Regions from separate parts of the Homo sapiens genome. Here regions 2, 3 and 4 are each linked to region 1. Evidence: promoter capture Hi-C in human tissues and cell types (Jung and others, 2019). All regions are on one chromosome and are shown on one strand. The core of a region is centred on a gene start or on the middle of the fragment in contact, and the rest is flanking DNA. Distances in the headings are between cores, read along the strand shown.

What was found. Contacts are between HindIII fragments. The study calls those that stand out against the background at their distance.
Region 2: a fragment that was not itself captured here is called in contact with the fragment with the promoter of CAMSAP3 in region 1 in 2 of the 25 tissues and cell types used here (dorsolateral prefrontal cortex and spleen).
Region 3: a contact is called between a fragment that was not itself captured here and the fragment with the promoter of CAMSAP3 in region 1, in 1 of the 25 tissues and cell types used here (liver).
Region 4: a contact is called between a fragment that was not itself captured here and the fragment with the promoter of CAMSAP3 in region 1, in 2 of the 25 tissues and cell types used here (mesendoderm cells and thymus).

Annotation. Positions count from the first base shown.
Region 1 is chr19:7,594,445-7,597,460 of GRCh38, reverse strand. CAMSAP3 (calmodulin regulated spectrin associated protein family member 3) reads right to left here and starts at 1,598. Exons shown (of 17, transcript NM_020902.2): 1 at 1,311-1,598. The coding sequence starts at 1,458. RefSeq lists an enhancer at 14-619 and a silencer at 1,459-1,898. The HindIII fragment of the contact is 16,585 bases long and covers 1-3,016 here.
Region 2 is chr19:7,856,020-7,859,131 of GRCh38, reverse strand. EVI5L (ecotropic viral integration site 5 like) reads right to left here. Exons shown (of 20, transcript NM_001159944.3): 11 at 3,064-3,112; 12 at 2,008-2,040; 13 at 801-941. Among named protein-coding and RNA genes, the nearest start is that of PRR36, 17 kb to the left of the region's middle. RefSeq lists an enhancer at 1,030-1,815. The HindIII fragment of the contact is 4,169 bases long and covers 1-3,112 here.
Region 3 is chr19:7,933,847-7,936,656 of GRCh38, reverse strand. TIMM44 (translocase of inner mitochondrial membrane 44) reads left to right here. Exons shown (of 13, transcript NM_006351.4): 4 at 1,512-1,592; 5 at 2,419-2,568; 6 at 2,654-2,793. Among named protein-coding and RNA genes, the nearest start is that of TIMM44, 8.4 kb to the left of the region's middle. The HindIII fragment of the contact is 6,270 bases long and covers 1-2,810 here.
Region 4 is chr19:7,895,013-7,897,798 of GRCh38, reverse strand. LRRC8E (leucine rich repeat containing 8 VRAC subunit E) reads right to left here. Exons shown (of 3, transcript NM_025061.6): 2 at 2,058-2,200. The coding sequence starts at 2,195. Among named protein-coding and RNA genes, the nearest start is that of MAP2K7, 7.5 kb to the left of the region's middle. The HindIII fragment of the contact is 4,312 bases long and covers 1-2,786 here.

The DNA of each region.
Region 1 (3,016 bases), core at 349-2,848:
TCTGGTGCAGCTGGACTTCACATTCAATTCTGACACTCCACGTTGAGTTCTCTACAGCCTGGTAACCTTGGAAGTGAGGAGCTGGGGCTGTCCTGGCTGTCCAATGCCCAATCTCTTTCTTCCTCAAGCAAATATCTGCAGGGAGGTAGACCCCAGAGTGGGAAATGCATGCATGGAACGACGCAGACAGAGACTGTCTGGGAGAAAGAGGGACAGGCTGGGGCGGAACCAGGAGACGGACAGCTGTCACTGAGACCCACACCCAGAACAGGTTGATCTGGGAAGGCCAGGGAGAGGGGGGATGGGCTGTGCCAACACCAGTGGGCAGAACCAGTGGGAGAAAAGGATGTACCCCCACAGCTCCCCGCTGGAAAGCCCAGACCTTAATTAACCCCTGTCTTCTCTGGCCAGGCCCTGACTCCTAGCTCTGGCCTGGGGTTGTGAAGCTGCCCAAAGCCGAGACTGAGTGTTTCCAGGGCCTCTAATCCCGGGGACCCGGGATTACGGCATCCTCCCCATTAGGGTGGCTCGGGCTCTCAGGCAAGCGGGCCTGGGGGAGGGAGTGAAGGATCTGCTCTAATGGGAGAAGGCCCCGCAGCCGGGAGGAGCGGGGGGCCCACCCCAGGCGATCTTGTACTACCCATTTCCCTTCAGCTGGGCTCGCCAACCTCCCCAGTAAAATGGGGCCATAAGTCGCAGCTGCCAGGCGCTGGAGGGGGCTATGGAGGCGAAAGGGGGTTCCCAGAGCTCCCCGGTCGCCGCCCGCAGCGCGGCCAGGGCCGACGCGGGGTGTGTGTTGGGGCCTGGGGGTCGTGCGGTGGTGGAGACCGGAGCGCTCGAGACCCCCCAGCGAGGTCGGGGTCTGGGTCTCCAGGGTGTGTGGCGGGGGAAGAGACCGAGAGGAGATCCTCGCAGGGGCGTGATGTGTGTAAAAGAGAAGAAGGCGTGCAAGGGAAGGCCTTGGGGGTGCGGGAGGCGGGAACGAGAGGTCCGCACGGGGAGACCCCACCCGGCCCGCAGACCCCGCCCGGCTCACCTGGAGGCTTGGACGCCGGGGACCCCCGCGCGGAGCTGGGCCGCGGGCCCCACCCCCACCGCGCTCCCGCAGCCGGCGGGGCAAAGTCCACCGCCCGGGCCGAGCAGGAAGCTCGGAGGCCCCGGCGCGGCAGGGGCCCGAGCCCGGGGACCCCCGGCGGCCGGCGCTATTGTTCCCACGGCCCCCTGCCTTCCCGGCCCGGCGCCCCGCCCCCCCCCAGCACCTGCCGCGCCCGGCCCGCCGCCCCCGACCCCGGTCCCCCGAGCCCCGGTACCTGCGCCCCCGAACGCGGCCCGCAGCACCCACGCCAGGCTGGCCGCCGCCTTGGCCCGCGAGAAATCGTACTGGTCCAGCGACTTGATCTCGGGCACTAGAAAGGTCCTCCGCAGCGGCCCGGGCCCGGGGGGCGCCGCCTCCACCATGGCGGCGCCGGGGCTGCGGGCGCCGGGTCCGCGCTCGGACTGGGCTGGGCTGGGCTGCGCCGCGCTCGCGCCCCAGCCGGGCCCGCTGCTGCTACCGCCGCTGCCGCCGCCGCCGCCGCCGCCGCTGCTGAGCCAGGTGCGGCCGCTTGCGCTGGCGACGCTGCGTCGGGCCCGCCCCGGGGAGGAGCCCAGGTGCGCCCCGCCCCCGAACCCGGACCCGGACCCTGGCGCGCCCCTGCGCCCCGCCCGGGCCCCTCACTGCAGTGTGCACGGAGCAGCAGGGGCGGGGCGGAGGGGGGCGGCCTGGACTGCGGCGATGGTGGAGGGAGCTTGCGGAGGACTGAGTGTGTATGTGTGCGCGCGCGCGTGTGTGAGTGTGTGCGCGCGCGCCTAGCTTACTGGAAAGGATTAGGGACCCTCTGTGTGTGCCAGCCCCAGTGTCTACCCTTAGGCGTAGGAGCTCCTGCAAGTGCTTGCAATAAACGCCGGCCCTCAGGCAGAGAGTGGTTGGGTGCACCTGTTTCTGATTATGTTAGTGAAGGCACAAGAATATGAGTGTCTTCGTATCTGTGTATCTCTGAATACATTTGGGTGGTGACCAAGTGTATTGGGGGGTGTCTAGGGGTGTGTGTGTGTGGGGTATGTATCTGGGCACGTGTAAGTGTGTGTTTAATTTGTTGTGTGTACAAGGATATGTATTATATAGATGTCTGTATCCTGAGGATGGATGGAAGTGATGAGTGTGTGTCTGTTTTTTGTTTTTGTTTTTGTTTTTGTTTTTGAGACAGGGTCTCACTCACTCTGTCTCCCAGGCTGGAGTGCAGTGGCGCGATCTCGACTCACTGCAACCTCCGCCTCCCAGGCTCAAGCGATTCTCCTGCCTCAGCCTCCCGAGTAGCTGGGATTACGGGGTTGCGCCACCACTCCCGGCTAATTTTTGTATTTTTAGTAGAGTTGGGGTTTCACCATGTTAGCCAGGCTAGTCTCAAACTCCTGACCTCAGGTGATCACCCGCCTCAGCCTCCCAAAGTGCTGGGATTACAGGCGGCAGCCACCGTGCCCGGCTGTGTGTGTGTTTTTGGAGTGCTGTGAGTATGTCTATCTCTGTGCATCTGAACGTACTGGTGTGTTGTATGAGGCTGTTATTGATGCCTCTGTCAATGCAGGAGTATGGAGAGACATTGAGAGTGTGTGTATTTCAGGCCGAGAGCGGTGGCCACGAGTGTAATCCCAGCACTTTGGGAGGCCAAGGCGGGCAGATCACTTGAGGCCAGGAGTTCAAGAGTAGCCTGGCCAACATAGCAAAACCCCGTCTCTACTAAAAATAAAATTTTTAAAAATTAGCCGGGCATAATGGTGCATGCCTGTAATCCCAAGTACTCGGGAGGCTGAGGCGGGAGAATCGCTTGAACCAGGGAGGCAGAAGCTGAGATAGTGCCACTGCACTCCAGCTTGGCCAACAGAGTGAGACCCTGTCTCAAAAAAAAAAAAAAAGTGTGTATATTTCTGCAAGAGTGTGACTATTTGTGTCTATGAGTGTCCTTGCGTAGCTGTACTG
Region 2 (3,112 bases), core at 144-2,643, 260 kb before region 1:
GCAACCTCCACCTCCCGGGTTCAAGTGATTCTCCTGCCTCAGCCTCCTGAGTAGCTGGGACTACAGGTGCGCACCACCATACCCAGCTTATTTTTGTATTTTTATTAGAGATGGGGCTTCATCATGTTGGCCAGGCTGGTCTCGAACTCCTAACCTCAGGTGATCCACCTGCCTCAGCCTCCCAAAGTGCTGAGATTAAGGCGTGAGCCACTGCACCAGGTCGCAGTTAAGTTCTAAAAGCTTTCAGGAGAAGAAAATCTTGGGGTGGGGCCCCACTCATGGGCCTGCCCATCATGGGACCCAAAGTTCATGGCCCTCAAGACACTCAAGGTGCCCCCTCAGCCCCACCCTGCTGGCTCAGAGCTCCCCAAACAGTCCCGGACTGCCCTGCTCCCATTCTCCATGGCTGGCCCCCCAGGGACACCTAACAATCCTTCAGACCCTGGGGACAGGCAAGAGCCTCCGTAAGGAGTCACAGCCCTGTCTGCTGCCTGTGACACAGAGGAAACCCTGCAGGGACAGCCCGGTCTTCAGAGGCCTCCGTGCTGAGGCTGGGGGTTGGGAAGTCAGATACTGCAGACACACTATGAGGTGGCAAGAAATGGATATCAGGATGTCTCAGAATGTGGAGCTGCTGGGGGAGAATCTGCGCTTGTCTCTGGGTTCCCCTTACCCCAGAAAGGAACAGGAGGGCCAGGTGCTGAGGCGGGGCAGATTATGAGCCCTGAAAGAAAACCGTTGGGCGGGGGCGGGGGCGCGGGTCATGGCCCCGCCCAGCAGCCCCGCACACCCGCCCCTACCTGCTGCTCCTGTAGCTGCCGGATGGTGCTCTGTGCCTTCTGCAGGTCCTCGGCCGCCGAGCTGCACTGCTGCCGCACCACCGCCAGCTCCCGCTTGATGACGTAGTTCTCCTCCGCCTCCTGCGCCCGTGTCACTTGCCCCTGAGAACAGCGAGGACAGGGGGCAGGGGGAGGCCGTGACCCTCGGCTCCCACCCAAGGCCCTGCCTCCCGCCACAGGGGGAGGCCCAGAGAGTGGAGGTGGGGGGAAGTGAGGTGGGGGCCTCCCGTACTCAGAGCCTGGGATGAGCGTCCCACTGGGCCTGGGGACGTGGGTGGGTGACAGGCAGGAATAGGACACCTGGAGGAGCCCGGGAGGAACAGAGCTAGCCCTGGGCTTGGAAAGCTCCATCTCCTTCCCCACTCTGGCTCTCAGTCTCTGCCCCAGTTGGGATCCTTATCCAGGGGCACAGCGAGGCCACCTGTGCCTATTCATGCCAGACTCTGCCGGTGAGGGTGAGGATCTGGGGACAGCTGAGGCCCCGGCAGGAGAGGGCTGGGCTCCCCAGGGCATTCACCTCTCCCAGCGGCATCTTCTCTAGTCCTGGGCTCTGGGGCCTCCACCTGCCTGGAGCTAAGACCCCCTTTTTTCCCCCACCTCATCTTTGTCCCCTACCCAACTTGGGCCCCCCATTCCAGGCTCAAAGCCACCAGGTGGCGGGTGGCAGCTTCCAGATAAAGCCATTCAAGATGAGGTGGCAGCAGGAGCAGGTGAGCTAGAGAAGGTGGTAGCAGGCATTGCAGGTAGGAGCAGAGAGCAGCAGCGTGAGGGCCGGGCGTGTGTGTGCGTGTGTGTGTGTGCATGTGTTGTGTGTGTGTGTGACCGCAGCACTGCACACACCAGGGCCTTATGTGAATATGGTTTTAGGTTCCCCAGCCCTCCTGGGTCCCCACCCTGTGTCGCCCGGAGGAAGCTTTCTGTACATGCATGTGGACATTCACACCCAAACGCACTCACAGCCCCTCCACACACACCCTTCTCCCCACTTCACATGCCCCGCCCCCCCGGGAAGCCTCTGTGTCCCCCAGAAGCGGTCCCCAGCTGCTCCATGCATGGCGCCAGGCCTGCCCGCAGAATGGCAGGGAAGAGGCGGTTACTGGCTGTCATGTGCAGGGTGCAGGGAAGGGGCCAGGAAGGAATCCGGAGAGGGGATAAAAAGCTACAGTACCTGGATTAACCTATCAGCCAGAGCAGCGCTCTCCTACCCGGCGAAGGGGGTTCCCAGCGACAGGGGGAGGAGGCAGAGCGGAAGGCGCGGGGACAGGAGAGGGGAGACAGACAAGAACCACTTGTCACTAACGCAGTGGACTATCTCTAGAAGCGGGGGAGAGAGGAGGGAAGACCAGAGAACCAGCAGGAGAGGACCCGGAGGAAGACCAAAGCTAGAGCCAGCTCCGTCCTGGAGAGGGGTTCGGTGTGAGCGGGGAGGTCGGGGGTGCCCGCGGCTGTGGGGGAGGCCGCAGGGCTGGGAAACCCACTGTCCCACCCTCCAGGGTCAGCCGGGCCGCTGCTGGCTGGAAAAACTGTGGGGGGCAGGGGGACTTTTGGCTTCGTGCGGACCTCCTGGAGAGTGGGAGAGGAGGGGGTGCGTTGTAATTTTAAGGCAGAACAAGGCTTTGGGGTGAGGGCAACCAAATCCGGCTGCCAACCCACTTCCTGTGGCCAGTGGAGGGTCAAGTGAGGACGAGTGAGGAGCAGGAATTGGGGGCTCCCGGGGCTGGGGCTCAGTGAGCCCCCAATTCCACCCCCATCTTTAGCATGTTGGGGAGCAGAGTCCGGGCTGTGGCTCCCCACCATGGCGCCACGCTTCTCCTCCACTGGGTTTCCTTTCCTTTCTTTTGAGGGCAAGACTTCCAAATTACAGGGTGGGGTGGCTTGTGGCCCAATTACGGGGCTCGTCCATCAAAGTGGCAGTTCTCCCTCCTCCTCACCCCTCCCCGTCTGTGCAGCCGGGGAGGGCACAGAACACAAATGGATTCCCGTGGCTGCAGGCCACTGGGTTGTAACTCGCCCCCACTCCAGGATTAATCACCATACGAGTCGCCCCCAGTTGCAGGGCACTCCAAATCGGGTTCAGGTCGGGTCCTGGGGCAGGAAGGTAGGGCTGCTTAGTCCTCCAGAGAGGAGAAGACTTGGAGGAGTCCACCCCAGGTTAGCGGCCATGCCCCGCATGGTGGGTCACACCCCATGGCGACCATGTCCTCACAGTGGCCACGCCCCTCACCTTCTCTAGGGTTTCAATCCGCTGTTTCAGGAGCCGGTTCTCCGTCCGA
Region 3 (2,810 bases), core at 78-2,577, 340 kb before region 1:
GAGCAGCTGCCAAGCCCTGGCTTCTGGGAATGGCTCTGCATTCCTTTATTTGTAAGGGCCCTGCGAGGCAGTTACAGTGTCCCCATTTTACCAATGAGCAGCTGAGCCTCAGAGATGCAGGCACCTGCCACGGGTCCCTTGCATTTTGGTTTGGTTTGGTTTCATTTGTGTTTTTTTGTTTGTTCGTTTTTTGTTTTTCTCCTTTGAGATGGAGTCTTGCTCTGTCAGCCAGGCTGGAGTGCAATGGTGCGATCTCGGCTCACTGCAACCTCCGCCTCCCTGGGTTCAAGCGATTCTCCTGCCTCAGCCTTCCAAATAGCTGGAATTATAGGCGCCCACCACCACGCCAGGCTAATTTTTGTATTTTTAGTGGAGACGGGGTTTCATCACTTTGGCCAGGCTGGTGTTGAACTCCTGACCTCAGGTGATCCATCCGCCTTGGCCTCCCAGAGTGCTGGGATTACAGGCATGAGCCACCGTGCCCAGCCTAGTTTGGTTTTTTGAGACAGGGTCTTGCTCTGTCACCCTGGCTGGAGTGCAGTGGTGTGATCACAGCTCACTGCAGTTTTGACCTTCCCATGTTCAGGTGATTCTCCCACCTCAGCCTCCTGAGTAGCTGTGACTAAAGGCATGGGATACCACGCCTGGCTAATTTTTTTATATTTCTAGAGACAGGGTCTCGCCATGTTGCCTGTGCTGGTCTCGAACTCTCTGGGCTCAAGCGATCCTCCCATCTCAGCTTCCCAAAGAGCTGGGACTACAGCTCACATGCCCAGCCCCTCTTTATCATTAATGCAGGGGTCATCTGAAGACATAGCAGGCTGAGTTTGGAGTGGGATGGATGGAGCGGGAGACATAAGACCAAGCTGTGGTGGCTGGAGGCTGGATGAGGGGCACAGTGATGACAGGCAAGGCCACCTCCTACCACCCGGTGAAAGGTGAAGGCTGGGCCTCCTGTTCTCAGGAGGTAGCTGCCAAGCGGGGACCCGAGTCTGCCGGCCTTCTGAGCAAGGAGCTCACCGCTGCTGAGACCCTCAATCCAAGCCATGTGGGCAGCCGGGGGCCCTGGAGGCAGCACATGCTGGCAGGTGCGGGGAGGGAGGGGCTGCGGAGAAGATGCTTCTTGGACCTTTGGCTGTAAGAGAAATGTCACTGCCGTGTCAGAACATACAGACTTAAAGACACAACGGTTGGCCAGGCACAGTGGCTCACACCTATAATCCCAGCACTTTGGGAGGCCGAGGCGGGTGGATCACTTGAGGTCAGAAGTTTGAGACCAGCCTGGCCAACGTGGTAAAACCCTGTCTCTACTGAAAATACAAAAATTAGCCAGGCATGGTGGTGGGCCCTGTAGTCCCAGCTACTCGGGAGGCTGGGGCAGGAAAATCGCTTGAATCTGGCAGGAGGAAGTTGCAGTGAGCCGAGAGCGTGCCACTGTACTCCAGCCTCGGCAACGGAGACATTGTCTCAAAAAAAAAAAAAAAAAAAAGGACACAGCGCTCTTTACCTAGAAAACCATCGAGTCAGAAACCGTGCGGACGAGCGAGGTGCTACGGAAGAAGCTTGGGGAGCTGACGGGCACCGTGAAGGAGGTAACAGTTCCACGCCCGCCTGGAGCCGCTGGGGCCATCAAAGTCCCCTGGCCGCTGGAGGCTGGAGGAAGAGTCGGCTCCTGGGTGGGGGTGGCTTGGCAGCAGTGGGTGGCATGGGGCGTGCTGCCACCCTCGGGAAGGTTTCAGGAGTTCCCGGCACATGCAGGGTGAGGTCAGACTGGCAACCTTGCATGACCGTTGACCCAGGGAGTCGGCAGCAGTAAGTGCTGCTAGCCAGGACTCGAGGAGAACATGAAAATGTTTTTCCTGCCTAAAAATAGGAGGAGAGGGGCCGCTTCCACCCCCTCCCGAGGGTAGAGGCGGGAGGCAGGATTCCTGGGGTGCTGCGGCTCTCCTCGGTTGTCTGTTCTGTCCAGCTTTGCGCAGCATGGGGCGCCCTCACCGCCGTTCTTTCCCCGGGGTCCCCTCCTTGGGAATCCTTGCTGCCAGGCAGTTCCCGGGTCTCCAGAGGACTCCTGCCCATTTTGGAAAGGGGCCAGCAGACCCAGCGTCTCACCCAGAGCCCAGGGCCAGCATCCCGGAAGCCGTGGCGGTGTGCTCATGGCTCTGGGGGTGCCGGTGTGCTCATGGCTCTGGGGGTGCCGGTGTGCTCGTGGCTCTGGGGGTGGCGGTGTGCTCGTGGCTCTGGGGGTGCCGTTGTGCTCATGGCTCTGGGGGTGCCGCGTACCACAGGAGCACAGAAGGCCTCTGCCGGCCTCGGGGAACCAGATCCGCCCTTCTCTCCGGCAGGAATTCATTCCTCCTGCCCCGCCCCCCGGCCGCCAGGGCCGGTGCCAACGCCCCCTCTCTGTGTCTGTCTCAGTAGAGCCTTCACGAAGTCAGTAAAAGTGATCTCGGCCGGAAAATCAAGGAGGGCGTGGAGGAAGCAGCCAAGACGGCCAAGCAGTCGGCCGAGTCGGTATCCAAAGGCGGGGAGAAGCTGGGCAGGACAGCGGCCTTCAGAGCCCTCTCCCAGGTGAGCCCAGTCCTGGGCTAGGGCATGCAGCCTGGGGCGGCCGAACCCAGACACCCACCCCAGCCCCGCTGTGCCTCCCTCGCAGGGGGTGGAGTCCGTGAAGAAGGAAATTGACGACAGCGTCCTGGGACAGACCGGGCCCTACCGGAGGCCCCAGCGACTCCGGAAGAGAACGGAGTTTGCGGGAGATAAGTTCAAGGAGGAGAAAGTGTTTGAGCCAAACGAGTAGGTACCAGCCCGTG
Region 4 (2,786 bases), core at 287-2,786, 300 kb before region 1:
TAGGGTCTTTGCAGAGGTAGTCAAGACAAAGCCAGTAGGGTGGGCCCAGTATGACTGCGCCTTAGAGAAAGGGGAAACATAGACACAGAGACAGACACAAAGACAGAAGATGACGTGAGGATACAGGGAGAGGCTGGGTGCGGTGGCTCAGGCTTGTAATCCCAGTGATTTGGGAGGCAGTGGGAGGGGGGGCCAAGCGGGGGTGGTAGAGGAGGATTGCTTGAGGCCAGGAGTACAAGGTTACAGTGAGCTATTATTGCGCCACTGCACTCCAGCCTAGGTGACAGAGCTTGCTTAAAAAAAAAAAAAAAAAACTGTCTCGACCAGGCGCAGTGGCTCATGCCTGTAATCCCAGCACTTTGGGAGACAGAGGCAGGCTGATCCTGATCACGAGGTCAGGAGTTCAAGACCAGCCTGGCCAACATACTGAAACCACGTCTCTACTAAAAATACAAAAAAATATTAGCCGGGCGTGGTGGCACACGCCTGTAATCCCAGCTACTTGGGAGGCTAAGCCAGGAGAATTGTTGGAACCCGGGAGGCGGAGGTTGCAGTGAGCCGAGATCGCACCACTGCATGCCAGCCTGGGCGACAGAGGGAGACTCTGTCTAAAAAAAAAAGAAAAAGAAAAAGAAAAATACTGGGAGAATGTCATCTACAAGCCAAGGAACTCTTGGAGCTGCAAAAATCTAGGAGGGAAGCTTGGAAGATTCTCCCTCACTGACAACTGACGCCTTGATCTCAGACTTCTGGCCTCCAGAACCAGACCCAGAAGAGGAAACATTTCTGGTTATTTAAGCCACTCAATCCCTGCTACTTTGTTACAACAGAAGTAACAAACTCATATAGCAACTGCAGTCCTTTCCAGATTCTAGGGATAAAACTGAGCATTGTGAAAATATGGGGCTGGACACAGTGGCTCACACCTGTAATCCCAGCACTTTGGGAGGCCGAGGTGGGAGGATGGCTTGAGGCCCGGAGTCCGAGACAAGCCTGGGCAACATAGCAAGACCCCTGTGTCAACAAGAAATTTAAAAATTAGCTGGACGTGGTGGTGTGTGCCTGTAATCCCAGCTACTCTGGAGGCTGAGGCGGGAAGATCACTTGAGTCCAGGAGTTCAAGGCTGCAGTGAGCTGTGATCATGCCACTGCACTCCAACCTGGATGACAGAATGAGACCGTGTTTCTTTATTTTAATTTTCAATTATTTTATTTTATTTTTTTTAAGATGGAGTCTCGTTCTGTCACCCAGGCTGGAGTGCAGTGGCATGATCTCGGCTCACTGCAACCTCCACCTCCCAGGTTCAAGCAATTTTCCTGCCTCAGCCTTCCAAGTAGCTGGGATTACAGGTGTCCACCACCATGCCTGGCTAATATTTGTGTCTTTAGTAAGGACGGGTTTTCACCGTGTTGGCCAGGCTGGTCTCAAACTTCTGGCCTTAAGTGATACTCCCACCTTGGCCTCCCAAAGTGCTGGGATTACAGGTGTGAGCCACCATGCCCGGCCCCTGTCTCTTTTTAGCCAAAAAGAAAAAAAAAAAAAAGAAAAAAAAAGAAAGGGTCAGGTGCAGTGCCTCAGGCCTGTAATCCCAACACTTTGGGAGGCCCAGGCAGGCAGGTCACTTGAGGTCAGGAGTTCGAGACCAGCCTGGCTAACATGGTGAAACCCCATCTCTACTAAAAAACTACCAAAATTAGCCAGGCGTGGTGGTGGGCGCCTGTAATCCCAGCTACTCAGGAGGCTGAGGCAGGAGAACCGCTTGTACCCGGGAGGCAGATGTTGCAGGGAGCTGAGATCATGCCACTGTACTCTAGCCTGGGTGACAGAGTGAGACTCCGTCTCAAAAAAGAAAAAAAGATATGGAATGGCATAGCAATGTGGGGACTCCGGTGCTCCTGGCTATGGAGGTAAGGAAGATAAGGGGTCTGGATTGGCCTTTGAGTGGGGCTCTGTCTTCAGTTTCCTCTCTTTCTTGGGTGATGAGAAGGCTTCCCGACTTCCCCAGACACCTGCCCCGCCCCTCTGGTCACACCCCCTTGCCAGGGGAGGGCCTCACCTGGAGGGTGCAGCCAAAGACCCCAATCATGAGCATGGCCACGGTGAGGTACTCGGCCAGCACGTCCCACCAGGGTTTGAGCACCTTGAACGCAGGCTGCTGTTCCGTGAACTGCTTGAACTCGGCCACTGGGATCATGCTGCCTGTGGGACGGGACGAGACGGGGGGTGTAGAGAGAGACCCTCAGGATGGGAGGCTCTGCAGGGGGTCCTCCGAGGAGCCGGACACAGGCAGGCCTGTGACCCTCCCTGCCCAAACTTGTCCAAACCACCAAAGTGTGTGCCCCCACTTCCCTCTTAGCCTGGCCTTAGTCACCCTCCATGCAGACGTCACCACCTGCCCAGAACCAAGCGGCCACTGTTCCCCTCTGGGCACCCCTGCACCTGATCTGACTTGTCTGACCTCGAAGAGCACATGAGGGATAGTCCACAGGGCCGCCGCCCTCCAGCCTCCTCGGGTGGCCCCCTCCCCAAAACGAGGCATCCCTCTCCCACCCCTGACACCAAGGCCTGAAAACATCTGCCTCGATGCTCCCTGACTGCAGACACTCAGCGTCTGGGCCAGCCCCGGCTCCCACCGCCACCAGGCCTGAAAGCGTTCCAAGGCTCAGGACTTCCGGGGCGTAGGCCCCTCCACCCCCTCCAGGGGCACTCTGGGCACCACCTCCAACCTCTAACCGGAAAAGCCGGCTGGAGCCTGGCTCTGGTTACTAGGGCCCCAGGGGCAGGG